2 separate regions of the Homo sapiens genome follow, and region 2 is linked to region 1. Evidence: promoter capture Hi-C in human tissues and cell types (Jung and others, 2019). All regions are on one chromosome and are shown on one strand. The core of a region is centred on a gene start or on the middle of the fragment in contact, and the rest is flanking DNA. Distances in the headings are between cores, read along the strand shown.

Region 1 (7,911 bases), core at 2,150-4,649:
GGTTAAATTTATACTACAGTTATTTATTTTACCAAGCATTATGAAGAAAGCATTTTGACATCCCAAACAGATATTTCTCTCCTTTACTGTAATATAATTTAGTCATAACTCAAGGTAATTCTGAGAAATTGAAATACAAGCAAAAGGAACAGTTCCGTAAATATCAATAAACAAAAGACTTAAAGGGAGCAATGTGAAAACATGTCTGACTTTTCAGCTAGATCATTTAAATTTTTTCTTTGGCAAACAACTGAACAAAACCCCAAATTACCCAAATTTACTAAGGAAGTGGAGCCACATGATGATAATCAACACAAGAGTCTCTGCAGCCATCCGGAATTCAAGCTGTGCATACGGAGAACTCTGCTATTCCAAACAACTTGTATACCAGGGGTGATTCTCTATAATCCATTTGAGCTATGAGTCATTTAGGAAGCAAAATTAGACTTATTTTCCCCCCAAAGATTGTTTTTACTTGTCATTGCATGCTCATATACAGGGCTCAGAGCTGATGGATAACTTACTCCTAGTACCCTGCTTCCCAGAAATGGAGATAGCAGCATTGTGTTTTACCCAATGGATAATTTACTCTCTTGACTAATGACCACTTAGATAGTAGGCAAAAGGATTCAGATTTCTAAAATCTAATGGAAATTTAAGGTAAAAACTTAAACAAATATTTGTCAAATTATTAAATTCTTAGCGAGGCGATCACTAATGTTGATACAGAGCTACTAAAGAAAGATTTTTGGCACCCCTAAATTTATAAAAAGTCATGTTAAGTTTAGGCACACTCAAAATTAATTTGAGGAATTCTAGCCTAAAACTATTTTGTAAATTTCATTCAATTAACAAATATTGAGGGACTGATAAAAACTACAAAATAAATCTTTGTTAGATGAATAGGTATCTCTCACATGTGTGGCTTTGGGTTAGACGTAAAGAATGCAAACCATAAAGGGACATGGAATTGTTTCTGGAGGAACCCAGAATTTAAAATGTTAAGAAATGTACACAGTAAATACATGGTATAGGAAGTGGAAGGTGATATATGTCTTAAAAAGATTGCTGGGACATTGTGCGACGGACACCAAAAGGGAGAAGTCATGGAAGAGGCAGAGTTTGAAGTGACTCTTCCAGGACTGTAATGCTTTGGACGTAAGACCTGGAGAAGGGTATCCCAGATACTCGCATGCAATGGCACAGAGGTAGGCAGATGCTGTCTGGTAGGAAATGGGACACCAGGGAATATTTGTGAGTAGGGAAATGATATGGTCAGGGTTTTGCGTGAGGAAAAGCAATTGGCAGAAAGTATTTAAACTGTGTGGGAGGGTGGAAAGGATGGGCGGGAGGGAATGGACTGCCTGCAGGTCCCTGGAAATGCAGAGCTGGAGCTTGGGACCAGGCCAGAGTTGGGGATAAGAGTTTGGGAATCTGGGTGTCCTCTTCCTAGTGTTCATAATTGAGAAACCCCAAGAAGAGCAAAGGGCAGGGCAGTTTCTTGCTGGAGGGTGACAACATCAGAAGGGCCAACCTCCATGCTAAATATCCCGCCCAACATCTGACACCTCAAAACAACAACAACAACCAAAACAAAACAAAAACCCACCACAAAACCAAAAACCCTCAGTACAAAGTAAGGCCACCTCCCCATAGCGAGGTGGGAAGTCAAGGTGCAGAGAATTAGAGAGGATAGCGCATTCCAGGGCATATCAGGGCTAAAACTAAGGCAAGGATGACATGGAGTATATTTAAAACAGTGTACTTGGTTCCAACAATGATAGACTGGATTAAGAAAATGTGGCACATATACACCATGGAATACTATGCAGCCATAAAAAATGATGAGTTCATGTCCTTTGTAGGGATATGGATGAAACTGGAAATCATCATTCTCAGCAAACTATCGCAAGGACAGAAAACCAAACACCGCATGTTCTCACTCCTAGGTGGGAATTGAACAATGAGAACACATGGACACAGGAAGGGGAATATCACACACCGGGGACTGTTGTGGGGTGGGGGGAGGGGGGAGGGATAGCATTAGGAGATATACCTAATGCTAAATGACGAGTTAATGGGTGCAGCACACCAACATGGCACATGTATACATATGTAACAAACCCACATGTACCCTAAAACTTAAAAGTATAATAATAATAAAATTTAAAAAAACACTCAATAAACAGAAGATACAAGGAAAAAATAAATAAATAAATAAATAAATAAATATAAATAAAACAGTGTACTTGGAACTTCCTCAACAGCCATCCTTCTTGGTCTATAGAAACTCAGGAGTCCCAGCTTTAAATAGACTTGTCACGGCCTGCGTTCGTTTCTAAAAGGTGTTTTAAGCTACTTTGTTTTCCTGAAAGCCCCTGTAACCGTGCCAGCTGTCTCTATTTCGTGCCTGTGAAGGAGCACTGGGGTCAGAAATATGTAAGGCTCAGTGTTATTATTCAAGTTCATTGTCTTTACCGAGCCCTGGAAGTGGGTACAGGTCTAAGTGTTCACCCTGCGGCCTCGCCAAGGGGTAACTTGGCATAGTTTTCCAGCTGGTAAGTTGATAGGCAAAGGAAAGAAAGAAGGGTATGAAGAGCGCCCCCGTGAGAAGCAAGGGTTAAGGTTGCCACGGACCCGGCTTTACCCTCAAACCCAGGAAAGCCGGGTCACTTGGGGCTAGGGACGGCCCCCGAGCGAGCGGGGCTGCAGGTGCCGCGAGGAAAGTCAGATCTTATCTGCGCTCCTAGTTATCTCCGCAGCTCTTTCTCCAGGAAAATAATCCTGGCACCACCACTCAGGAGCCATCTGTCTTCGCCCCAGTTCCCCGGGGTCGAGCAGTCAGCCCAGGGTCAGGGTCCTGCTGTGGGCGGGCGGGAGGACAGCCCTGCAGTTGGAAGCAGAAGGGCCGAGGGAATCCCGCGAAGCCGCCGGAGCGCGTCGCGGCGGGGCCTCCCGGGGCTTTCCCGGCCCCGGGTGCGCGGCAGCCGCGGGGGCTGCGTCCCTCTAGTCCAGTGCAGCCGGGTGGGAGCTGCAGAGCGAAGCAGGTGGGTGTGGAGCCAGGCCCGGGGCAGCAGGAGTGGCTGGCGCGCGGAAGCTGAGGGAGGCACCCCGCCGAGGTGTGGGCGGTGCCTGCCCGCGCCCCAGCCGCGCCCTGGGCACCAGAGCGCTGTCCCCGGCCGAGCGCACAGCTCCGGCGCCGCGAGGCAGAGCCCCGGCGTCCCCGGCGGTGCGCTGCCGGCTCGCGCAGCCCAGCCATCCCGCCCCGCCGCCCACCTTGACAGCCGGGAGCGCTGAGGAGGAAGAGGGGGAGGGGGAGGAGGAAGAGAAGGCGGCGGCCGCTCCAGCCCGCGGGTGCGCGGAGCGCGGGAGGAGGCGGAGCGGGAGGCTGGGGTGGCCGCAGCCCTGTGTGCGCGCCGGGCCGGCTAGCTGCGGGGCGGGGGAGCGGCGCCCCAGAGCGCCCCGCCTAGCCTCCCGCGCGCAGCCTCTACCCTGCTCCGCCACAGACACACACCCACCAAGCACCCACCGCCCTCCGCCCTCCGCCCTCCGCCCCCGCGGCCGCCGCCGCCGCTGCGCCTCGGGCAGCCCCAGCGAGCGGCAACTCCCGGGCTGGCGCGGCTCGCTTTCTGGCTCCTTCCGCGCGGCGAGCTCAGCCCCGCTCGATTTTTCCTCTTCTGTTCCAGCCCTCTCTTGTCTGGGTGGCTGTGGCGGCGGCAGGGGGATGGGGACCCCGTGTGGGGAAGGGGTTGAAGATCGATGAAGATTATTGTTCTTTTAAAGGATGCCTTAGCTTCCTCCCGCCGCCTTTCCTCTGAGCCTTCCTACTAGAGACCGTGAACCAGAGTCAGGGATGTAAAGACAGGGGGAAAGCACGCCGGGAGCTCCAGCCAGCCGGGGAGACCCTCCTCTCTGTGGAGGGGAGGGGGATTTCCAGCGACAGGTCATTGGCGAAGGGGATCGTCGCGGGGAGAGGCTCCCCGGAGGGAGCGGGGAATCCCACAGCCCTTTGTGGTGCCCGAGCCCGTGCCGCCTGCTGAGCGGGGTCTGTGGGAGCTAGGTAAGTGGCGGGGGCATTGCTGCTCCCCGAAGGGGGTCTTCCTTTAAGAATGAATCATCGCGGCAGCCTAGCCAGACTTGAGTTGCTAAAGGAATTGGAAACTGCCATATGGCGCCCAGTGGACTTACACACAAAGCTGACTTAGCCCTGAGAGGGTTTTTAATGTCAGGCTCCTTCCCGGTGGGGAAGGCGCTCAAGTATTAGCCCCTGAAAAGCTTCCCAGCAGCCTGACTGGGAAGGGATGGGGATGTTATTTCTAGGAGCCGAGCTCTTGTTGCCTTCCGTCCATTTGTTGGTAAATGCCACACTCACATGCACACACTTGTGGGACTGGATTTAGGGAGTGTGATGTCTCTGATGTATGAACGATCCTCAGAACACAGAGACATGCGTGCATTTTATTCTTCAAGCGGTGCGCGGTCTCCGTTCTGTAGCACGATTCCTGAGAGGGAGAACGGGTCTCTAAGGAAAGAGCTTCATGGCTGTTTCCAACACACTCTGCTAGGGGACTTGGGAATACGTTTGCCCTGAATAGCACCAAAAGACATCGACCATTTGCCTCATCATTTGCTCCCGATGCTTAATGATCCTCTTCAAAATAGTATGCCGCCATCCATTTTCTCGAGTTGTGAGCATTTATGCGTATTCATTCATAAAAACTGTCAGTGTGCAATATGCACAAACATGCCATTTATGCAACATTTATGACTGCACATGTGTTTCAACAATAAGTAATAATGCATACAAGATTACATTGAAAAAAATTTAGTATGCACATACACTGGGTTAATTCCGCGCAGGTTCAACATTCCTTCTAATCAAGTTGTGTAGTAATGTCAAGATTTTAAGTATCGTATCACATTTTCATTTTTGCATTGATTAATTTTTTTATTTTGTTGGGAATCTGATTTTTTGAAACTGAGGGAAAGGAAGAGTAAGCATTTTATTGTTATTGTTAAATGTGTAGTATAGTGTGGGTCGGAAGTCTCTTGGTTTATTTACCAATAAACAGCAATCAATATATTACATTTCATAGGACAAGCGAGAGATAGATTTCGGTCAAAAATCTTGTCTTACCTGTCAGTGCTGAATAACTTACAGGAAAGATTTTGTAAAAGAGGGTAACATTCTAAAGTTACATATCAAGAAAATAAAGTTTTGTTTTATCTATTTCACTCTTTAGGGGCATGTGTGTGTGTGTGTCAATAAATATAAAGTTGTCCAAAGCTTAACGTAATACATGAATAAAACCCATCTAGACTAGACATCTAGGCTAGAGAGTTCTTTGTTCTTAAATTAACTCAAACAGTTTAGTAATTTGGCACATTACACATGTGTATGCGCATTTAATTGCCGTTTGAGGTGGTGTTTTTAATTTAAGGGCATGGATAAAGTGCTTACTTGTGTGATTGCATGGACTCTGAAAATACTGAAGGTCCAACGTAGAAATAACTTTCTTCCCCACTGAAGGAAAAGTATCCTTATCACCTAGAAGAGTTAATATGCTTCCACAAAGTAAATACCATAATCCCCTCCCTCTTGCCTTAAGGTTTAGAACAATTGTTTATCACAAATAGAATTCTGTATAATGTACCCTTCTTCCTTTTCTGGCACTACTCAGACTTTTGGAGAAAGAACTTGGCAGTTCTGTTTGTTTTCTTGCTCCTTTAACCTTCACCTTTCCCTCTCCATGTTAGTGTTCTCAAATCTCCCTCATACACAAACCCACACGTATCGACTCCAGAAAAATCACTCTCCTGCCTGCCACTTTGAGAGTTCTCATCTCACATCTTTTCTATTGCCTCTCTTTTCTTTTCTTCTGTTTTTCCAAATAGAATCAATCCATGCATCCGTTGAAACTATTTTGCATTTCACTGTTCTCCAAGTCCAACAATTCAACTTTCCAAGCATACATATTTACTGAATATTCAGAGGAGTTAGTAGAAATTATTACTTTATCCATTCCCTTCTGTTTGGCTTTTAAAACTTCATAGTTTAGGCAATAGGGCAACTTCCTGCCTTTTTAACACTCACTATGATAATAAAAGTGAGATTGCTAGAATAACGAAATGGCAGGATATGGTTTCGGTCACGTTTCTCAACTTAAGAGTGTGTCTGTCCACGTGTTTTATATACCTGCCTGCATGTCTACAAATGTGCAAGTCTGCAGAGCATCTTCGTTAAACGTTGAAAAATATTTTTTCTTGAATGCGTATCTGGCATTCTTATATGGTAGAGAGATCAGTATATGTGTATAACATATTGTGAAAGTAGACCCAAATCTAGGAAACCTATAAGATATATTTCATTCTGCCCTAATGCATTTTTTTCTTCATAAAGAACTAATTAGTTCCTTTAAAACTTGCTATCTCTTAAAGACTAATTCCAAAGGAAGATTCTTAACGTTGATAGGAAATCTCATGCATATTTTAAGGAAAATATATAAAGGTAAGATATTCTGCTTATTTCAAAATGTAATTGTTTAAGATTTGTTTATATTCTTCAGATTGATTTTGCATAAAATCGAGATTTCTATTATTTTCACAGAAGCTTCAGACAGATGGACAATACAAAGGCATTATGTGTGATTTCTTTTTTAGCCCAGAGTTTTGTTATTGTTGTTGTTGTTGTTTGTTTTTTTTAAGGCTAGAGATTATGGCCTTGTTACTCCCCAAGTGATAGAATAAACTTTATAGAGCAGAGCAGCATTAGATTTTTTAGTCACATTCTACAAGTATCTTTATAGCCTAGATCTGTGGGCCATTCTGTTTCATTGCTTATTTCCTCCTTGTGCTTCTTAAATATGTATTCCCACCAACTCTTTACTGCAAGTACGGGTTGTGAGGCAGAAAGCCATGTGTGTGAGACAAGTAATCCCTTGACTTGTGTAAGCCAAACCCTCTTATATTATCTTAAAAAGTGCGTATTCCTATAGGTTGAATTTTAACTATCTTTGCTATCTGATTTGATGTCCCATAGCCACTCATTGACTCATTCATTAATTCATTTATTACTTACTAAATATATATATATAAGGAGAAGAGTGCTTGAATAGAATATAACAAATGTAAAAAATATAGAAGCTAGGCCCTGCTCCCAAGAATATTTTAGGGGGAAAAAAACTTGAAAAACTAATTGAAAAATCAGTTATAGTTCAAAATGAAAGATCTCTTTTATACAGAAATGCACTTAATAATTTTATACTTAGCAAATTAATTAAGACACATCCATGAAGAGGATCATGAAAATTTTCACAAACTATGCATTTGGCAGTTGTTATAAAACAATAAAAATAATAGTAATAATAATTTCATTAAAATATTTAATTTTAAATGTAGAGTATTATGATTATAAGTAATACTATTTATTTTATTGACGTATATAAAATAAAGTTATTATTATAGCACTTACTTGAGGCACATACTGTTTTAAGCATTTTACAAATATTATTTTCATTCTTACAACCACCCTATGGTGTAGCTGTCAGAAATGCCCTTTATTATATAGATATGAAAACTAATGTTCAGAGACTTTTCTTAACTTGTCTAAAGTCATATAGGAAATAAATGGTAAAGTCAAGCTTGAACCTAGGTGCTCTGGCTTCACTTAACCACTATGATATTCAGAAGTGTTAAAAACGAGCCCAGGCAGAACAAGAAAAAATGCTTGCAGTTCCTAGATTTATTTGGAACTGTATCTTCTCACTCACCAAAGGATGCCCTGCTTATTAGTACAGGAGGATGCTTGAAAAAGGCCAAAAGTAAGAGAAAACCCCCATATTTTCAACATGAATTTGAAATAAGAAGGTAGTTTAGATTTTTATAAGGTAGGTGGGATTTTATCAGAATGCT
Region 2 (7,911 bases), core at 2,016-4,515, 87 kb after region 1:
AAGCCCACTGTCCCTTTCTAACTGAAGCCTTTCCCTTTAGCAACATTGTTGTCCAAAGTTGGAAGGCCTTCCAGTACTGTATTTTATTTTATTTTATTTTATTTTTTTGAGATGGAGTTTCGCTCTTGTTGCCCAGGCTGGAGTGCAGTGGTGCGACCTTGGCTCACTGCAACCTCTGCCTCCCAGGTTCAAGTGATTCTCCTGCCTCAGCCTCCCGAGTAGCTGAGATTACAGGTGCCTGCTACCACACCTGGCTAATTTCGTGTTTTTAGTAGAGACGGGGTTTCACCACGTTGGCCAGGCTGGTCTCAAACTCCTGACCTCAGTTGATCCACCCGCCTCGGCCTCCCAAAGTGTGGGGATTACAGGCATGAGCCACTGTGTCTGGCCAGTACTACGTTTTAGATACATTAATTCATTGGATTACGTTTTAGGCCCTTAGACACAAGGGAATGTGGTCTCTGGACTTTTGTCTTTCTGAGAATTTTTTGTTTTTCTGTGAAACCTAACCATCTGGTTCGTGAATATTCCAGAATAGGAAATATTAATATAAAAGTGATTCTGTTTATATGAGTCTTCACTTTTGATACAAGAAATAAGATCACAAGTTTATGGGAATGTGTTTTTAAAAGAATCCTGCTAACATATGTACATTTCATCTCTTAACCCTTTCTGACCTGTATATTTTTATTTGTTCCAAGTGACTCAATCCCAACGTGTCAGTAACGACCTCCCATACATACCAAGAAGCTTCTGCCATCTGGTGGTATATGTGGAGGACGTGGTAGTCAAGATCCGCAGAAGGATCAAATCCCCCAGTCCAGATCCCAGCTTCCAGATCTGTTTTCTCAAAAAGCTTGAAAGATGGGATGGAGTATAACAACTTGACACCATCATCAGTTCAGCTAATGGTTGTTTCTCTTGCTTCCCAGAAAGTTGGTTTGTTTTGTCTTTTTATACCATAGTAATGACATCACTTGACTTGAACATTTCCCTGCACTCATTTTTAATTATTTATTTATAATTTTTTATTTTTAATGTTCGTGGGTACATAGTAGGTGTATATAGTTATAGGGTACATGATATGTTTGGATACAGGCATGCAGTGTGTGATAATCACATCATGGAGAATGGGCTATCCATCCCCTTGAGCCTGCACTCATTTTAATTAGCAGTCATTTTCTTTTTACAGAAATAATCTGGCGTTAACACCACAGTTTTAATAAAATTTAGACTAAAATTCTCAATGAATTACACAAGTAAAATAAGGATCTAATGAAATCTGTGGCATGATTTCACTATCCTTTGAAGCTGATTTTGAAAAGTTGTCTCCCAGTTTAATGTTGAAAGCTGGTCTTCATACATCTCATAAGTGTTTGTAGTATTCATGTAACCTCAAGCATAGGCAACATTTTCCTATTTCATGTTATTTCACCTGCTCTATTAGACCCTCAGACAAATTATATATGGTTAACAGTTTGCCCTTTAAAATATGTTTGTATTATCTATAATCAATTTTTAAAAAATCGTTTTGTCAATTAGTGTATATTTCATGAGTATCTATGATGTTACCAAGCCCTCTGGGAAATGTTGGGGATAAATTGATAAATAAGATAACAGTCTAATCCTTATGGAATGTACACAGAAAATAGACAGTGTTTGACTTTTCTGAGGCTTTTTTTGTTCTGAAAAATAGGAATCAAAATGTTTGCATAGTTTCAATAGGTTATAGACATTTTAAGTGGCGTATAAGTGATTTCAGAAGAAGAAAAGCCTACCTCTGTAACTAGTCTTCTCAATAACATCTACACAGTCTTTCACTGTAATCCAAGAGTATTGAGACTAATTGGAGCATTTCTTGACCCTCCAATAATAGGAGACATTCAAACATGGTATTAACATAATCTGCCATCATAGAGAACAGCTGAATTAATGTGATATGAATATCATGATCAACCTTGATGGAATAAACATCTTCGTACAGCTGCACAGTGAGATGGGGATGAAAGCCCTTTTTCTGTGTCAAGCTTCCAAAAATGGTTAATTAATCTGAATACTTTAGGTAAATTAAAAAAAAGAATGGAATGAAGAAGGATGTGAATAATCTAGATAATTAAACTCTACTGTGCACCTTCTTTGAAAGTTAGTCTAGGGTTTATGCCATAGGATTATGTAAGAATCTGTTAAGAGAGCTTATTGTTTAATTGTTCTGGTCTATATAACAGTGTTAACTAAAACATAACCTGTATTCAGTAGAATTTGGTTTGAAGTGGGTTTATCTCCGACCCCTATCTACTAAAATGCTCCATGCATCTTAGTTACCTGTAAGAAAGTCCCGTAGTAAAGCTCTGAGAGCCCCCAGACACCAGCACTTCTGTTTGGGATCTGTTCCAGCTCCTGCTAGAACTTGCCATGTGGTTTTATTCAAGACACCATCTACTTGAGCTCAAATTTCTCTATCTGTAAAACAAGGGAGTGGGCCCCAAATTCTGATTTTACCAAAATCAGAATACAATAAGAAGGAAACTGAAGGTTTACAAATATCATTTTTGGTGTGTCTTCATTGACTGAGTGTTAATTATACTGCCATTTCACTGCAGCATTTCTGTTGTAAAGACTTCTGTTGCAGTCAGTCAGAGTCAATCAGTGTTGAGGTTAACTTTCTCTGGCTGTATTGATTGGGTGAAAGTTATCCCCAAAGCTGGAGGAAGCAAATAAATTCCTTCTATCAACTTAAATTGTAGCGATGCCTGTCACAATTTAGGGGCACTTCTTGCTATTTGCCTTTCTGGAGTTGTTTTGATTCCAGGAGTACAGAGACTTAACTCCAGCTTTGAAGGGGAGGGTTGGAGACGATTAGAGGGAGATACCTCTGAGCCCAAGGAAGCAGCATCAAGGACAGAGTGGGGAAGAAAACCAAGTGTCACTTATTGAAAAGCAAAGGCTGTGATCTGCAGTTTCTGGTTTGTTCTGATAGAAGACTTTGGAACCCAAACCATCTGGACACATTTCAGGGACAATAAAGAATTGAAAAAGGTTTTACAAATAGAAGGAAGGTGGATAGGTTATCAGGGGAAAATATGAGTCACAACCTAGTGAACTAGTTTAGAGGAACCAGGCTCCCAGCACACAGGAGGCCTTGACCAGATTAAAAAGATAACTCATTTGTCACATTTGTCTTCCTGGTCATATTCAAAAAGCTTCACCTGTATTCGGTTAATTAATTCTCATGACAACCACTACAGGTAGGTCTTTACTCTCCTTATTTAATACATGAGAAGATGGATTTATAAAGAAGTTAGGTGCCCCAAATCACAGTTGTGAAGCATCAGACCCACTGAGGCTGGCCCCAAAGACAGGCTCTCATTGGTACAAATGTCCTTTCTGGCTCCAGCTTTCTTAGTTCCCTCATGATCACCCCTTTCTTTCATGTCCCCCCAGATGCTTGAGTGCTTCCTGATCGGTGCATAAGCATGTGTTCATTAGTTAAGAGTGCTTATGCTGGTAGGTAGCTTATCTACAAATCGTTACTAGAGACGGAATTAGGAGCCATGCCTCCTCCTCATTTCTCTACTCACTCTGCTCTTCTGTTTACATCAATCAAATCTCTATAATGTTCATATTAGTAAATTACTTAAACATAAGCTATTTTACAAATATATGCTAAGTTCTTAAATATCTTCATTCTGCCTCATGCATGCTTGGCTTTCTGTGCTAGTGTCTCAGTCAAAGCTATGGAATTGGATAGTTCGGGTAGAAAACTTCTCCAATTATCTATATGTTCAGAAAACTGGGAAAACATCCTCGAAGAAGAAGCACACATTAAGTGCCTTTTTCCTGACAGATTTTAGCCTACCACAGGATTTCAACCTTTTGTGCTTGGGGAAGTACTTTCTTCAACAACAAAAAAGATAACATTATGGTTCTGTGGTACATTGTGATATCTCTCAAACCTTCTTCATAAGCCTGAGATGGCTTTTAGCAAATGGTTTTTGCTCAGAGATATGGGTTTTTTTTTTCATTGAACAAGGAATGGAAAATATGCTAATTATAATTGAATAATGGACTCAAAATTTAGATTAACCCTACCTGATCACACTAACAAGATACTGTGAGTCTGCATTCATTTGTTTGGTCAACACATCATATTGAGCATTGCAGTAGGCAGATTGATATGGCGGTCCCCATGACCCCCACCTCCTGGTGTTCAAATGTGGATGGGGCCTGTGACTTCCTTAAAAACAACAGAGTAGGGCAAAGGCAGTGGGATGTACTTGGTTATATCACATAACATCGCAGTGCCCCTCCTGCTGGAGCCTCTCCTTGCTGGCTTTGAAGATGCCAGCTGCCATGCTGTGGGCTGCCCGTGTTGGGAGCCCACCTAGCCAGGAGCTGAGGGTGGCCTCTTAGAGCTGAGGGAAGCCTCCAGCCAACAGCTAGTGAGAAATAGAAGTCCTCAAGATCACATACATTAGGAACTGAATTCCACCAACAAAAGCAGATCCTTTCCCAGTCAAGCCCCATAGGAGACCCCAGCACCAACCAACAGACACCTTTATAGCAGCCTGGTGAGACACTAGCGGGAGACCCAGTGAAGCCGTGTCCAGACTCCTGACTCGCAGAAGCTGTGAGATGCCAGGCCTCTGTTGTTTTAAGTCACTGAGTTTGTGGTAATTTGTTATATAGAAACAGGAAACTAATACAAACACCCTCAGTATTCCAGACACATTTTGAGGAATTAGAAATGGAGCAGTGAACAAAATGAAGTCCCTGTTCTGAGGAGCTTGTATTTCAATAAATCTAAAACATAGACATTTTAGAAGCTTTAATTCATCTCAATTATAATTTCAAAGTAAAAACCTCAGTGATCCCAAAATGGGAAAGAAAAATTTACTTAAAATATTTATTTTTAACTTTTATTATTATTTTTTGAGACAGAGTCTCATTCTGTCACCCAGGCTGGAGTGCAGTGGCGCAATCACAGCTCACAGCAGCCTTGACCTCCTGGGCTCGGGTGATCCTCCCACCTCAGCCTCCTAAGTAGCTGAGACTACAGGCGTGTGTGACCATGCCCAGGTTATTTTTGTATTTTTTCTAGAGACAGGGTCTCACTTTATTGCCCAGGCTGGTCTTGAACGCTTGGGCTCAAGTGATCTTTCTGCCTCGGCTTCTCAAAGTGCTGGGATTGCGGGCATGAGCCACTGCACCCAGAAAAATGAGCATTTCTTTTCTGGTCCAAAGGAGGAAAAATAATGCTGGACATATCTCAGCATTGACTTACCAGGTGATCTTATTCAAGGAAAGAATGGGAGGACAGGGGTTGTCAGCTGTAGAACACGAGTTCTCCATGGGCTGAAGCTTTAGAATCAGAACTTTGCAGTCCCATGATAATGCAATAGTGAGATACAGTATATCTCACTATTTCAAAAAAACAAAAAAAGATACTGAAAAGCTTAAATACATAACTGCCAAAAGTCACCAAAATAAGAAAAGCAATTTCAAAATCAGCTTATTGATTTGATTTCTATAGAAAGACCATTGTCTAAAAGAAAACCTAGGATTCATTCAGCATTTTCAGAAGATCAAAGTCACATTCATGAACAACATGTATGTTAGTTCTAGTGTCCAGACAAGACAGCTAAGAAGGGCTTGAATTTCCACACAAGCTACCTGGCTTTATAAGTAGCCCCAGAATGCCCAGGTACACGGGCCACAGAATGCCCAGAATACACAGGCCACAGTCCACCCTAGGCCCAGTGTCCAGCAAATTTGAACTGCCAGTCACTTGGGGGACCAGGAGCCTGTACTGTATTTGGGAAACCACAAATCTAAGGCCACATTCTATAGAATAGACTTAAAGGTTTTCTTGAAATTAATATGTAATCAATCACACTCAGAATATATTTGGGCAGCTTATATGTGCAATGTGTTACATGCAGCTAAATGACTCTAACATTTCTATTGCAGTGTACAGAAGGTGTTCATAGAGCTAGCTCTTGTTGAATTGCAGTTATGGTTGTTAATAACATGTGTTGAGCACTAGTTCTGTCTAGACATTGTGCAGAGCACTTTGATATGTTTTTAATTTTATTTTCTTAAAAGGATTATTGTCCCCATTGAATAGAAGAGACTAAACCTTAGAAAGCCTAAGACACATACGCAAGATCCAACAATGAGAAAATGTTGGGGTTACAATTTTAATTCAGGCAGTCTGGTTGCAGAACTGGTGCCCTTGACCACTATGCATGGCACCTCCTGTTAATGTGACAAGCACAGTGTCAGATGCTGTGTTCTTTCATTTGTTCTTTATAACAACCCTGCAAAAGGTATTTGGGGGTCATGGGAAGAGCCTTGAAAAACTCTTTCAAGTAATTAGTTTAAGAAAGAGGCAAGATATCGACATGCATCTTCTGATGCCATAATCACTTTTTACATAACCAGGCTAACTGGGGGCTCTAAGGGCTATTGTTCTAAGTAGGAAACCATTGTGTGTTAATATTTATCAAATATTTAGAAGATCAATCTACTTCCAAGACCTTCCCCATCAGTTTGATAATGCCTAAAATTCTAAAAGCTCATGCCAAATTTCTTTACCTTAAAGCTTTGAAATTATTCCTAGTCATTTACCCTTATCAGTCATGTATACTTTAGTAAGAATAAGTTTATCTCACTCATTCATGAAAGCAGATTTTTATGGAGAAGAGGATGCAAAAACTTGAGGATTGCAAATGCTGAATCTTCTTTAGAGAAGGAGGTCACTAGGAGTGAAGAAAAGGGCAGGTGATATTTAGCCTAATGGCTATCAGAGATATTAAGAACACTTTCTGGAGGTCTCAAATTTGATTTTTTTCTGTATAACTAATCATATTTTCTATCATAGACAACCTTGTGTATAACCTAGAAATGATAGAAAGTATATGATCCAAAAGCAAGGTACCATCAGTTCTGCTCTGTACTTCTTTTGAAAATTGGAAATTGTCCCAACACATTTTGATACATTAGAGAACAATTTGAGCATAATGAAAATGTCTTGTTTTTTTTATGCATGATTTTTATCCATGATAACACTAGGTGAATGCAGAAAACTGCATCCAGATGAACAGAGCTGTGTAGGAATGTGCAAATTGCACACAGGCTCACACCTCAAACATCTGCCAGCTACCTCTGCTCACCATGTGCTTTGAGCCGCACCCATCCACATCTGGTGTTAGAACTTTCCTTCTGACTTCAGATAACTCTCCTTCCATACTTCATAATGACTTACTAACTGCAGCCTTTTGACACTCACTTCTGCAAGCAAACTCCAGGTCTGTTTTCAAGATAAAATATAGTATTTATTGTAGTATTTATGTATTTCTTAACAATTTAGCATGTGTAAAACTGTGTTATTTTTATTAGATTAAAAAAAATGTTTCCCTGATGACTTTTTTTTTGGCTTTTTGTTTTTTTTCTTTGAGACAGAGTCTTGCTCTGTCACCCAGGCTGGAGTGCAGTGGTGGGATCTCAGCCCACTGCCACCTCCACCTCCCAGGTTCAAACGATTCTCCTGCCTCAGCCTCCTGAGTAGCTGGGACTACAGGTGTGTGTCACCATGCCTGGCTAATTTTTGTATTTTTAGTAGAAACAGGGTTTTGGCATGTTGCCCAGGCTGCTCTCAAACTCCTGGCCTCATGTCATCTGCCCGCCTTGACCACCCAAAGTGCTGGGATTACAGGCGTGAGCCATCACGTCTGGTCACTGATGAAGTTTTTAGCATCCATTTTTCTGATGAGTCCTGTAGGATTTTTTGCCCAGTGATTTTTAGGAATGTGTGTGTATGTGTGTGACTTTATTGCAGAACTGACTTTATTGTCACTTATTATGCAGATTTCTCCTGTTAGGGGGTGTGTGTGTGTGTGTGTGTGTGTGTGT

What was found. Contacts are between HindIII fragments. The study calls those that stand out against the background at their distance.
Region 2: a fragment that was not itself captured here is called in contact with the fragment with the promoter of KCNB2 in region 1 in 3 of the 25 tissues and cell types used here (H1 embryonic stem cells, dorsolateral prefrontal cortex and hippocampus).

Annotation. Positions count from the first base shown.
Region 1 is chr8:72,533,826-72,541,736 of GRCh38, forward strand. KCNB2 (potassium voltage-gated channel subfamily B member 2) reads left to right here and starts at 3,400. Exons shown (of 3, transcript NM_004770.3): 1 at 3,400-4,060. RefSeq lists silencers at 2,990-3,119, 3,130-3,179, 3,190-3,249, 3,410-3,459. The HindIII fragment of the contact is 6,044 bases long and covers 1-4,781 here.
Region 2 is chr8:72,620,518-72,628,428 of GRCh38, forward strand. The region is part of intron 2 of KCNB2 (potassium voltage-gated channel subfamily B member 2); the gene reads left to right. Among named protein-coding and RNA genes, the nearest start is that of KCNB2, 87 kb to the left of the region's middle. The HindIII fragment of the contact is 3,649 bases long and covers 1,442-5,090 here.